2 separate regions of the Homo sapiens genome follow, and region 2 is linked to region 1. Evidence: promoter capture Hi-C in 16 types of primary human blood cells and fetal thymus (Javierre and others, 2016). All regions are on one chromosome and are shown on one strand. Each heading gives the region's core, a stretch centred on a gene start or on the middle of the fragment in contact. The rest is flanking DNA. Distances are from core to core; before and after follow the strand shown. Region 1 holds the start of VCAM1 (vascular cell adhesion molecule 1). Region 2 has its middle 46 kb from the start of EXTL2.

Region 1 (2,544 bases), core at 27-2,526:
TACAAATGTTATATAGTACAAGTTTATTGTACACATCCCATTGAGTCTCTGAGCTTTAGAATTTTCTTGTAGAATTTAACAGTTTTTTCATGCCGTATTTACATATTATTGCTAGTATTTAGAATTTTCTTCTCCAAATGTATAACGTTTATTATTGCATTTTTTGTATCCACTAAGTGGAAAATCATGCATTAGATATTGTAGAAGTAGATACAACAATGAACAAGAACTGGTCCTGACCATGAGAGGAACTGATGATCCAATGGGGGAGATAGACCTGCACGTGTTTAATAAAAGGAAGTGGCTATTCCGGTTTCTTTTTGATGGGCAAGCATTTTGCAAGGCCTTGGGCTATGTGTGTGCAAGGCTAAGCCAGTTAGTTAATTGGGATTTTTTTAAAAAGGCACTTCACTGGGGGGAAAAGGAACATAGAGTTGGTTATTGTCCCCTTGCCTATAATAAAAACCTATTATTTTTAATTTTTTAACTGGGTTTGCGGTTAAATCTCACAGCCCAAGAGATTTGCCACTTCAGATGGATTCCATACACTTGCATTTAAGTATGCAAAAAAATTCCAATTATCCAGCAATTTAACCAAATTATTGGTAACTTTTCTAAAACAAAAAAAAATTGTTTCCCTTGTTTTGGCAGCAATTTCAGTTACAGTCCTTTACTTTCTACTCAAGAAAATAGTTTCAAAAAGTTGATGTTTGTTGCTAAAAGAACTATTTTTATGAATAAATATAAAACTAAGAAGTTATGGTGTCCCTTTTTTAAAAAATGACTCATCAAAAGAAATAACTTTTTCCTTTCTCTTGTAAGAGAAAAAAATTAATCTCTTTTAGAATTGCAAACATATTTCCTTGATGGAGAAAATCAATTCACATGGCATAGTCGTTATTTATCCAGTTCAAAAACCAGAGTAGAATTTACTACTCTGTCTCCATTTTTTCTCTCCCCACCCCCTTAACCCACATTGGATTCAGAAAGCTTCATTCTGCAATCAGCATTGTCCTTTATCTTTCCAGTAAAGATAGCCTTTTGGAGTCGAAGATGAGGAAAAGCCTGTATTTTATAGTCTTGGAAGTGTCTTCTTTTGCCAGGACAGAGAGAGGAGCTTCAGCAGTGAGAGCAACTGAAGGGGTTAATAGTGGAACTTGGCTGGGTGTCTGTTAAACTTTTTTCCCTGGCTCTGCCCTGGGTTTCCCCTTGAAGGGATTTCCCTCCGCCTCTGCAACAAGACCCTTTATAAAGCACAGACTTTCTATTTCACTCCGCGGTATCTGCATCGGGCCTCACTGGCTTCAGGAGCTGAATACCCTCCCAGGCACACACAGGTGGGACACAAATAAGGGTTTTGGAACCACTATTTTCTCATCACGACAGCAACTTAAAATGCCTGGGAAGATGGTCGTGATCCTTGGAGCCTCAAATATACTTTGGATAATGTTTGCAGCTTGTAAGTTATTTCCCTTCATCTGTTTCAAATGTTAGCATTCAATTTTAGCCCTGGTTTTGGCTTCAGTCAGTTTTGCGATAGTAGTGAAGTAAAGACACTAGGATTTTAAACAGTAGGAAAAGTTAATTTAGTCTAACTTTTAATATGCAATTGAGTTTTGCTATATACCATTGTACTGTCATAGTTAGAGCTGAAAATTGATGTTTTTGGTATCTTTTTTTCCAAAGGCAATTGAGTAATTTGGATTCTGTCTCTAGTCGGTCTGTCTCTTTAGTTTCCTATACTTGACAATGAGGTCAAACTTAGCAAATAACAAAACAGCTTTGATAAATGGGCATCAAGGTTGGAACTGAGAATTCTCTCTACTGAAGATGATTCCATAAACTTTTTTGGCAGTGACTTCGGTGCTTTTTGGCTACCTTGCAGTTAGTTTGAAGCAGCTTAGGAAAGAGATCAGTCTGATCATATTTTAGACATTATACAGAGAAGAAGGAGGAGAATACTAGACAAACTAGTGGTAAATTTGCTTCTGTCTTTTTTTGCTTTTGCAGCTCAAGCTTTTAAAATCGAGACCACCCCAGAATCTAGATATCTTGCTCAGATTGGTGACTCCGTCTCATTGACTTGCAGCACCACAGGCTGTGAGTCCCCATTTTTCTCTTGGAGAACCCAGATAGATAGTCCACTGAATGGGAAGGTGACGAATGAGGGGACCACATCTACGCTGACAATGAATCCTGTTAGTTTTGGGAACGAACACTCTTACCTGTGCACAGCAACTTGTGAATCTAGGAAATTGGAAAAAGGAATCCAGGTGGAGATCTACTGTGAGTGCTTTAGAAAATCTTTGTTTTTCTCTCAATTTTACTTTAAAATCACTTTTTAAAAATGATATTTTAAAAAAAGTTTTAAAATGGATATTCATGTACAGATTCTTGGCTAAAGAACATACAACATCAGGAAAGCTAGGGACAGCTAAGGCCAACATGAGAGAGAGCAGGAATCCAAATCTTGGCTTCTATTTCTACCTCTGCCACAAACACAGTGACCATGTATAAGACTCAACCTCTCTGGGCTCTGGTTTC
Region 2 (2,544 bases), core at 18-2,517, 130 kb after region 1:
GGGAAAAAAAGAAGCTAAGACGTTAGAACTGTGCTATTTCCTAAAGATTAACATGTGTTTGAAAGATATAACAATGTTAGTTTTTGGACATAAACATACATATTGTTTGTACTAAGTGTTGCTTTTTCCTAGTCTGTAATCAATGAACAAGCATCTCTTGAATATGTAGTATTTACTTAGCACAGTTTGAGACACTGTGGGATATTCTAAAGAATAATCTGTAGAGCCCTTGCCTTTCAATAGCCTACAATAGAGTAGGAGGAATACAATGGCACATTTAAGCCATAAGACAAGGCAAGATGATACTTAATTACCATAAGTACTAAATTATGAGGTACAGACTATTAGTACTGTAAAATGTACTGGGTTCCCAGAATACTCTCCTTCCTATCTGAGTGGTAGTTACATGGGTATTCTTTTCACAACCTGTTTTAAAACTGTGCACATGTTTTATTTACCTGTTTTAAAATCATAATTCACAATAAAAATGTTAAGTGATAGAAAGAGAAGGAGAAGAATAAGGCCTGGAATAACTGGAATAAAAACTTGTGGGGAAAATATAACTTAAGAATTGGCACAGAAGAGAGAGCAGATCAATACAAATGCAAATGTAGCACAGCTGTGGATGAGTTGGGGTGCAGATGGGTTGCAAGGAAAGAGGGTACCAACTGGAGTGGGCTTGGAGTTTGGGGTGGGTTGTATGGGGTGGTGCAGTAGCTAACATGAGCCTGGACAATTTGAGAGTTAAGGGTTTTGGGGTTGAAGGAGGACCTTGAGATGGAAGTAGAGAAGCTTAGACTGATGTACCAGGTCATCCATATGTTTGGGATTTTAAATTAGGTGAAAGATTGATGACAATGGAATTCAAGAAAAAAATAATGTAGCTGTGCTATGTCTTCTTCACGAAAACAGGATAGGAGCAGGAGTGAGAAAGGGAAGCAGCAAATGAATCATGTAGCAATGAGAGCCTCCTCATCATTACTGGAGAGGAAGAAGTAAATGTAAGAAACACTACAGGTGAGAAATGCTCACGACTATGTAGCTGAGAGGATGTGGGGATGAGCAGGATAAATGAACCACGTATTTTTTGCTCTTGGGAGAATAATAGTGCCAGTGATAGAGTAGTTGGTAGAAACAGTTGGTTAAGAGGAGGAGGTAATTCTGGTCTTTCAAATGTAGAATTTGGAGTGATAATGACAGTAGGGAGTAGCTATATGGGCATAGAACAAGGGCACATAGAGAAATTTTGATGAGCATTTTCAAATGTAAAATACCACAACCAGAAATGAATCCCCATATTGTGTTATATGACAGATATCATAAAGCACCTAAACGATGCTGCTCTCACATCAAAGGCTAAAAATCAAGGTAATTCTCCCTCCTTGAATGTGGTAGCCAAACCCACATATTCCTCTCCCTTTCCATTTCTGACAGTTCCATAAATACCTAAATTCAAAGCAAAGCCTATTTATTTTATCAGGGAGAAAGCAGATGTTCCAGCTGTTGGTGATTTCTGTGCAAGATGAGCCATCCTTACTACATTTTAAATCTTTTTGAACTTGTGTCTTTTTAGCAAACTTGGAGAATTATACTATAGAAATGGAAATCTATAAAACTCCAAAGGGCAGACAGAATTAAGGAGGCAGATTTTGATTCAATAAAGAAAGAACTTTCTAAAAATGTGAATGATCCATAAATGGAAAAAACCTAAGTATATTCCCTCTTCTGGAAATATTTTAGCAAAAGCTTGACTCTGTAGAGATTCTATATATAGGATTCTTACTTTGAGTCAGTGATTGGACTAAAAGACTTCCATGACACTTTATATATTTATTTTCTCCCTCTCATGTATTGAGGCTCAGTGAGGAAAATTTTGAATAATACCAATAAATTTGCTCATTTATTCATCCAAGCAGGTTTGTTTTTCCTATGAGCCAGGAACTGGGCTAGGCATTGGGGATGAAACAGTGAAAGAGACTCTGATCCTTGTCCTCAGTAATCTTGTAGTCTAATAAGGGATACAGTGACCAAAGTGTTAAATGCTAACATCGAAGTAAATACCTGGAACTCAAAGTGAGCATAGCTCACTCTTAAAGAGTCAAAGAAGACCTATCTGAAACATCAACTATTGCACCAAACTGGACTGTTGAAGACAGAAGAGGCTTAAGTCCTTTCTATCAGTCTACTTGCCCAATATTCACTATCTACACACAAAAATTCTATGAGCAAAGCCCATTTTCAGAAAACACAGCCTTATAGAAGGACTTTCAATATGACAGAATGAACTACAGTTTCAGAAATGTAGTTTGGCTTTCTAGAAAACATAAATCCATTTGAGTCTAAAATATTTTAAAACCTAAATAAAATCCTTATCCCCATGAGATGATATGGACAAGTATTAATTGCTTTCTCCTATATTACCTTGACCCTGAACCTCCCCTATCCAGGCAACTAAACTGAATTGTTCCAATGGCCCAAGCAGAGATGTGAGGAAGAAGGGAAGGAGAGGGAATTACAGCACAATCAGAAAATAAATATAACACA

What was found. The method cuts DNA at HindIII sites, captures the fragments that hold promoters and counts their contacts. A CHiCAGO score of 5 or more calls a contact.
Region 2: a contact is called between a fragment that was not itself captured here and the fragment with the promoter of VCAM1 in region 1, in 2 of 17 cell types (endothelial precursors and M0 macrophages). The highest score is 5.8, in endothelial precursors.

The regions. Positions count from the first base shown.
Region 1 is chr1:100,718,466-100,721,009 of GRCh38, forward strand. It overlaps VCAM1 (vascular cell adhesion molecule 1), which reads left to right and starts at 1,277. Exons shown (of 9, transcript NM_001078.4): 1 at 1,277-1,459; 2 at 2,011-2,286. The coding sequence starts at 1,396. The HindIII fragment of the contact is 1,026 bases long and covers 989-2,014 here.
Region 2 is chr1:100,847,666-100,850,209 of GRCh38, forward strand. No RefSeq gene overlaps it. Among named protein-coding and RNA genes, the nearest start is that of EXTL2, 46 kb to the right of the region's middle. The HindIII fragment of the contact is 954 bases long and covers 791-1,744 here.